Linked DNA regions of Homo sapiens: region 2 is linked to region 1. The links are contacts of gene promoters, found by promoter capture Hi-C in blood cells and fetal thymus (Javierre and others, 2016). All regions are on one chromosome and are shown on one strand. The core of a region is centred on a gene start or on the middle of the fragment in contact, and the rest is flanking DNA. Distances in the headings are between cores, read along the strand shown. Region 1 holds the start of CAMP (cathelicidin antimicrobial peptide). Region 2 holds the start of TREX1 (three prime repair exonuclease 1).

Region 1 (4,734 bases), core at 1,529-4,028:
TGGAGTGCAGTGGCGCAATCTCAGCTCACTGCAACCTCTGCCTTCCAGGCTCAAGCAATCCTCCCACCTCAGCCTCCCGAGTAGCTGGGACTACAGGCACGCACCACCATGCCCAGCTCATTTTTGTATTTTTAGTAGAGACAGGGTTTGTTATGTTGCCCAGGCTGGTCTCAAACTCTTGACCTCAAGCAATCCACCCGCCTCGCTTCCCAAAGTCCTGGCATTACAGGTGTGAGCCACCACGTCTGGCCATATTCTTGTTTTTAACAATCCCTAAACACAAGCTCACAAGTTAAATCTGCTACCCACCTGAAGAAACTGTGATGTGTCCCAATGCCAGAGGAAATGCCAGGAGTTATGGGCTTTCCTGAGTTAAGTCTTTTAGGAAGCATTGGAATTTTATGGGAATTGTACCTGCAGGGAGACCGCACCCAGTTGGCCAGCCACCCATGGGACTGGACCATGCTTCTCTGAGTGTTAACAACACGCTTGGCCCCTCCCTTGAATGTCACCTCCCCATGAGCAGGAACAGCTCCACAGCATTCCCCCACCACCACACACAGAGTAGAGCTCCTTAATTCCCCACTGGGGGTTCCACTGAGAATGGGAATGCCATCTTGGATCTCTTGGCCCTACTGCCTTACCCTGTGTCCTCCTGGATGGAACACTGCCCTCGCCACCTCTGTGTCACACTCACACACACTCACACTCACACGTGGACTCCCTGAGCTAAGGGCTCAGTTGTGGTGAGAGAGAGGAGGCAAAACAAGTGAGACTGAAGCCTGAGGAAATTGCTCTCATAGTTTATTTCTCAGAGCCCAGAAGCCTGAGCCAGGGTAGGGCACACACTAGGACTCTGTCCTGGGTACAAGATTCCGCAAAAAATCCTTGATTCTCTGGACAATTCTTTTAAACTCTTTGCCAATCTTCTCTTTAGATTTCCGGAAGAAATCACCCAGCAGGGCAAATCTCTTGTTATCCTGGGGTTGTGTACAGGAAGAAACAGGTTCCTTGTCGGGGATGTACCCAGGGTCAATCCAAGACCCCTCCCCACCTAGACGCCCCTCTTCGTGGGCCCCCGCAGGAGCTTTGGGGCCCCAGTTCAACCTCTGGCTGTGACCTTTGAAGCATGTGATTGAATCCCTACACCCAATAAAAAGATGAGAAAACAGAGTCCCGGAGATAGTGAGGGGCTCTGCAGGGTCACACAGCCCAGCCCAGCAACACTGAGATGGGAACACAGGGCTGAGAGCTGAGTACTCTTAGACAGTGGCTCTCAAACTTTACAGAAGCCGGAATCTCCTGGAAAGCTTATCAAAATACGAATTTCTGGGCCCTACCCAGAGTCTGTCTGAGTAGGTCTGAGTAGGGCCTGAGAATTTGCATATCTAACGAGTCCCCAGGAAGGGCTACACTTGGAGATCTACCGCTCTAAGGGATTCCAGAGCCGGCCCTGGAGATGGAACTCAGGTTTGGGGAAGAGCCCTGGGTAGGAGGGGCTTTCTCTGTCCTGGGTTGGGGGAGTAGTTAATTGACCCATTGGATGGTCCACACTCTATGCCCCCATCAGCCCCTGCATCCCAGAACAGCCCACTCACCTTATCACAACTGATGTCAAAGGAGCCCCTGGCCTGGTTGAGGGTCACTGTCCCCATACACCGCTTCACCAGCTGGAAAGGAGAAGCTCAAGGTCAAACTTGAAACCATTTGCCATGACCTCCCAGCCACATCCCAGTGGGAAATATTCCCCAGGTGCCCCCTGTTCAGCTCCTTGGGAGGCACCCACCAACACCCCCAGCCCCCAGCCTCACCCCGTCCTTCTTGAAGTCACAATCCTCTGGTGACTGCTGTGTCGTCCTGGGGCACACTGTCTCCTTCACTGTGAAGCTCACAGGCTTTGGCGTGTCTGGGTCCCCATCCTAGTCAGAGGAGGAAATGGGGAGGCCCATTCTTGTATTTTCTGATTTGTGTCCATGACCTCCCCACCAAGAGGGCAGGCTTTCCACAGTACCTGATGTGCGACGGGCACTGGGTGCTGGGCTTGGCACTGGGGCATTGAGGGGAGGAGGACTGAGCCATTCCTACCCTCCTAGGTGAACAGTGAGTAGGAGCAGACCTCAGATGAGCTCTAACAAGGAGCCCCTCCCACTCTGGGGTGGGGGCAAGGGAAGTCAGGGGGCTTCCTGGGGGACAAGACATGCCCACTGGAACCTAAAGTCTGGATAGAGTTCTTCCCTATGTGGGGTAACGTGGTACAGAAGAGACTTAAAGCAGAGGAGGTCACTGCCCAGAGCCAATGACCCCATTCTAGTGCCTGGAGCTCGCAGAAGTCCCAAAACCTGCGTGGGGTCGGGGTGAGGGTATCTCTGCCACAGCAGGAATTATAAGGCAGGAAGCTCTCGAGCTGGGAGGAGACACGAGCTCTAGAAGGTTCCCTGGAAAACACGGGACCACATTTAAAGGGGGAGATGCCCTCCTGGCAGGCAGTGCAGCAGGAGCAGAAGGAACAACACGTGGCCAAGCCCAGCCAGAGCAGAGCAGAATGTCCCCCAAAGCTCACCATCGTGGGCCTGGGGTCCAGGTCCAGGAGGCGGTAGAGGTTAGCATCCGAGGACCGCTGGTTGATGCCATCTATAGCACGAAGCACAGCTTCCTTGTAGCTGAGGACCTGGGCAATGATGGCCAGAGGCATCACCAGGCCCAGCAGCAGGAGCACCAGTGACCACCGCCCCAGGGAGTGGCCATCCCTTTGGGTCTTCATGGTCCCCATGTCTGCCTCCCTCTAGCCCACAGGAGCCTCCTTTATGCCCAGCCTGAGCCTGATGCAAAAGCCCAACCAGGAGCCTTCCTGATCCACCCATCCCTGGCTGCCTGCCAGGGTGTGGGCTGGGGTTTGCTTTAGCCCCTGGCTATTGCTTCACAGGACTTGCTGGGCAGTGAGTGAGGCCTTCCTTGTGTGCAAGATGAGGAAGTGGTTTCTTCATCTCTGACAACCTCCCAGACCTGACCGGAGATTGTCATAGCCAGGGGTGCTCAAGAGCGTTAAATCCCTCCAGAGAGGAAGAGAGCCAGGTGCCTATTCTACATCCTTCTACTCCTCAGGAGTCAGTATGATGGACTGCTAAATCTCCAGCTCTAGGCATTGCCTGGCACCCTGTAGGCATCGATTAAGAATTGATGAATGAGGCAGGGCACGGTGGCTCACGCCTATAATCCCAGCACTTTGGGAGGCCAAGGTGGGCGGATCACCTGAGATAAGGAGTTCGAGACAAGCTTGGCCAACATGGTGAAACCCCATCTCTACTAAAAATATGAAAATTAGCCACGCATGATGGCTCACACCTGTAGTCCCAGCTACAAGCTGAGGCATGAGAATCACTTGAACCCATTGAACCCGGGAAGCAGAAGTTGCAGTTAGCTGAGATCATGCCACTGCACTCCAGCCTGGGTAACAGAGTGAGACTCAGTATGAAAAAAAAAAAAAAGAACTGGTAAATGAAGACAGTAGCCACCCCCAACCTAGAGACTCACTCTTGCAAGGGACAAGTTGCCCTTTCAGTTCAAGGCCATACCACATGCTCTCTGGACCCAGCCGTCAGCCAGACGAAGGCTCTGCTCCATCTATCCCCTTCTGCATCCTTCTTCACTGTTTTTTTCAGTCTCAAAATGTTCCCAAGCCCCTCCAGACATGGCCTTTCACCATGGCTTCTCCCAAGCCAAGTCTTAGGAAAGGTTGTCTACGCTTCTTGACCCCATCTTTTCACTCTTCTTCATGCTGAAGGCCACTGAAGGCTGGCCAACCCACCCTTGGTCCATGGCCACCCTCAAGCCTGGTCTTTGTCTGCACAGGCACTGGTGAGCCTTCCTTCTTGCTGCCCCGGTCTCCCCTGATGCCACTCTCCTGCTGTCCCTCCTGCCTCCCTGGTGGCTCCTTCTTGGTCTCCCCTAAGGGCTGTCTTCTTAATATTGAGAGCGTGTGGGGTCACCTCCTGGGCTGCTTCTCTTCCCTGGCCTCGGGTTTCCCTGGGGACGCCCTCTCCCAGGACACCAGTTATAATAGGCAGACACCACCCAGTCTGTATCTCTGAGTTCGAGACTCCCATGAACGTCCCGGTTGTCCCCACTGGGCCTCCTTGACTGCTCTTCTGCTGAGTGCCCACTGCATGAGCCCTGAAGCACCTTTGGCTCCTTCCTCCCGAAAGCACTCCCCTCTGGCCTCTCCTTCCACCCCTGCCTGGCTCCTGCCGCCATCTTCTCTCCCATGCAATGCTGCCCCAGCCTCCAGACTCCACCTTCTCTAGGTTTCAGGCTCTCCCCAGACCACAGTCCACCCTCCACACCGTTGTCCAGGGGTTCCTTTAAACCACCAATTTGGCCATTTCAACCCTCTACCTTCAGGAGCCCACACACCCCCTAGGCTGGCATCAGGGCCTGTGGCCTTTTGGTTCCCACTGCCCTCACCCCAGCCCTGCACACTGCAAGTGCCAGACTGTCACGTATGCCCCCATCACATAGGCTCATCTGAGCCTCCTGCTCTTTCTCCCAGCTCTGCCCCGATCCTTCTGTTTGGCCTGCCCTTTCACCTCATGAAGCTTTCCCTGACCTCCAACCAGGCACAGCAATCTCCTCTTTGCCCCTACATCTTCCAGGAAGTCTCTCCTGATTCGACCTCAAATTACTCCCTGTTTGGTGCTCTAGCTGAGACACCAAGCTGGGATGGGTGGCTGGTGTTGG
Region 2 (2,986 bases), core at 1-2,500, 240 kb before region 1:
GGAGGAAGATCCTTGGTACCCCTGCTCTCTCCAAGGCTGGGACTAGTGTTCCTGGTTGTGGCCAGGTGTGCAGTGGTTGTGACAGCAGATGGTCTTGGCTTGGTCCTAGCAGAGGCTGTGACCCCATACATGGGCCTGATGGTGCCGAAAGGCCTGGCGTGAGCATCCACCCACCGCAGCAGGGCCTGTGGTCTCCACTGACAGATGCTGAGCAGGGCCAGGACATCACCCTCAGCCGTGTGCGAGTCTGGAGGGGACTGCCCATACAGGCGAGTGTAGATGCTGCCTAGGCTATAGCTCTTCCTTGGGCCGTGTTCTGAGGGGCTGCTTGCTCGCTCCAGGGCCTTCAGCGCAGTGATGCTATCCACACAGAAGGCACCATCCAGAGCACTGGTGAGGCCCAGCATAGCCAGCTCTGCTTGGAGCAGGGGGAAGTCGTAGCGGTCACCATTGTGTGCCACCAGGCACCAGGGCTGTGGCTGGCGCCGCAGGAAGGCTAGGAGCAGGTTGGCCAGGTTGTCATCAAAACATTGACGCCCATGCGCTGCCAGCACAGCTGTGCTCAGACCTGTGATCTCGCTGGCTGCAGGGCTGCAGGCCTTCCCCGGAGCCACACACAGGGAGAGCTTGTCTACCACACGCGGTGGTGGAGGAACTGTGGGAGGTGGCCCCTGAGAGGTGGGGGGGCTCTCCAGGGCACATCTGTGGACAGCCAGCAGGCACAGCTCCGTGACCTTGGGCTGGGAGAAGGGCAAGCCAGTGGCCTCCATGTCGAAAAAGATGAGGGTCTGCATGGGCCCCGGGGGCAGGGCCTGCGAGCCCATGGTTGGGTACGTACCTGCTGCTGAGCCTGGAGAGGAGCATGGGGTGGGTGTGTGAGTGCCCAGTGTTAAGATCCGAAGGGGAGGGAGTGGGGTAGGGGGTGGGCAGAAGCACATCTCAGGCCTTCCCTGCACAATCCTGCCCTGTCTGCGAGCTCCAGGGCCCATTTTCAGGCAGGAAGTTGGAGAGGGTGAGGTGGTTTCCTTAGTGGGACCAGCACATTCGACTGTCTGAGAGGGTCTCCCTCTTCACATGACTCGGCCCCTCCCCTAGTGCCCCCTTAGTCTGGGGTGGGGGAACCCATGGCCCTCCTGCCCTGCGCCATCCCATTGTGGGGGCCACACTCACCGTAGCAGGCAGGCAGGCAGGCAGTAGTGACTCGGCTGCACACTCTCCCGCGGCTCTCGCTGGCAGCAGTGGCGGGAAGTGAAACTTGGCGTGGGCCCGCCTACAGGCCCACGTGAGCCAGGCCCGCCCTGCTCGTCAGCCTGCCTGGTCTGTCCCTCTCACCACCATCCGTTCCCCCCCACACCCACTCCCCTGCTCCCGGGGGACCCCAGAGGCCTTCCAAGATCCACAGCTGTGGCCTGCTGGTGGCACAATGCACCGGGGCCATCATACCAGTGACAGGCAGCTGGAAGGACCAGGGCAGTGGTGCCAGACCAGCTCCCGGTCTTACACACTGCTGGGAGCCCCTGCTGCGGCCCTTTCATGCCCACCTGTGGGTCCCAGTTTCCCAGGCTTTCCTGGTTTAGGCCTGGGCCAAGAGCCACCTCCTTCCCTGCCACACAATGGTTTCTTCCCATGGCCCCAGCCCAAAGCAATGACTCAGGACAATTCCACAGGCAGGGCAGGGCTCCTTCCTCAAGGCAGATCAGTTACCATGGGGACGGGCTCAGCAACAGCCAGGGACAGGAAGAAGGATCCCAGCCACTCAGGGTCCGGGTCCTGCTCCACCCCTCCCACTCCGCCAAACAGATCAGACTCAGGAAACAAGGCCAGCCAGTTCTCTGGGCAGTTCCTGCTGGTCACTGCTTTAATCAGTTGATGTGGTAAGGAAAGGAGTGGTGCTGGTGCCACCATGTGGCTGGACACTCAGGGCCTCAGCCACACTCCACCTCGGGGTCTTCCACATCGGTTTCCGCGGCACAGAGGTCATCCAGGGCTGCCTCTGAGACAAAAAGGAGAGGTTCCTGGTGAGGGCCCAAAGGTGCCAGGGCCTAGGGCAGGTCCCACCTCTCCTCCCCCAACGTCCGCAGGAACTAACCAGTCCCTTCCACACCCAGGCCCTGCTCCCTCAGCTACTGCAAACAAAGTGATACAAAGGCAATTCAGACACGGCTATTTCTGGAAAAACCGTGGCTCTGCCAGGCACACTCAACAGATAGATGCAAAAGGCATCCCAATATGCTTGGAGAAGAACTGAGGCAGGAAGATAAAAGAAAATGGCCCCAGTGCTGGAACAGGCTGCAGTGGGCGGGGGCCTGCTGAGGGGACACCCAGGAATCTGACTTGTTGGGGAACCTCTGGAAGAAGCCATGGGGGCTGGGCAGGATGGCCTCTGGCAGGCTTACCTTCACAGTCCGTCACATCAGGAAGCCCTCGGATGAGCATGCTGACCCCCGGCATCACCTGGTCAAACTGATGCAGGACCTCCACGCAGTGCATCATGAAGAGCTTGTCCTTCTGCGATAGGCCGTGCAGCAGCAGCACCGTGTCCCGCAGACAGCGCACTGTCCGCCTCTGCTGGTCGGTCCTTGGGGGTCCCCCTGCCCTCCGCACTGTCAGCCACTGTCTGTGCAACATCACCGTGAGCGCTCTGACCACCTGAGAGAGGGGGGGTGCAGACTGAGGCCTGGTGCCACCATGGCCTGCACCCTAACAATCCGCTCAGCCTAGCCACCTCACGTGAGGGGGTTTGCAGTGGGGCCTACAGTCCTTGCACGGGGCCCCCTTACCACCAGAGCTGCCAGCTGTTGGCCCCTACCCACTCACCTCCACATTACACTGGCAGTTGGAGCCAGTGACTGGGGGCAAGGGGCTCTGCACACCAAGCTTAGCCAGGAGCCACACCACCTAGAACAAGAACAGATTGGTTCCATCCTGGGCAGAAGGAGACCAGTCCCTGCGAGGGTTTTCTTAAGCTTCTATAAGAGTTCACTTG

What was found. Contacts are between HindIII fragments. The CHiCAGO score rates a contact against its expected background, and 5 or more counts as called.
Region 2: a contact is called between the fragment with the promoter of TREX1 here and the fragment with the promoter of CAMP in region 1, in 6 of 17 cell types (endothelial precursors, megakaryocytes, erythroblasts and 3 more). The highest score is 8.6, in endothelial precursors.

What each region holds. Positions count from the first base shown.
Region 1 is chr3:48,221,539-48,226,272 of GRCh38, reverse strand. It overlaps CAMP (cathelicidin antimicrobial peptide), which reads right to left and starts at 2,778. Exons shown (of 4, transcript NM_004345.5): 1 at 2,561-2,778; 2 at 1,812-1,919; 3 at 1,599-1,670; 4 at 788-980. The coding sequence starts at 2,761. The coding sequence ends at 849. RefSeq lists a silencer at 2,800-3,094 and enhancers at 3,104-3,153, 3,164-3,293, 3,314-3,433. The HindIII fragment of the contact is 1,963 bases long and covers 1,313-3,275 here.
Region 2 is chr3:48,464,494-48,467,479 of GRCh38, reverse strand. It overlaps TREX1 (three prime repair exonuclease 1), which reads right to left and starts at 1,250. Exons shown (of 2, transcript NM_033629.6): 1 at 1,171-1,250; 2 at 1-850. The coding sequence starts at 824. It overlaps ATRIP (ATR interacting protein), which reads right to left. Exons shown (of 13, transcript NM_130384.3): 11 at 2,818-2,898; 12 at 2,397-2,649; 13 at 1-1,993. The coding sequence ends at 1,926. ATRIP-TREX1 (ATRIP-TREX1 readthrough) reads right to left here. Exons shown (of 15, transcript NR_153405.1): 12 at 2,818-2,898; 13 at 2,397-2,649; 14 at 1,171-1,993; 15 at 1-850. RefSeq lists enhancers at 1-440, 655-854, 441-1,322, 1,935-2,024. The HindIII fragment of the contact is 3,980 bases long and covers 1-2,879 here.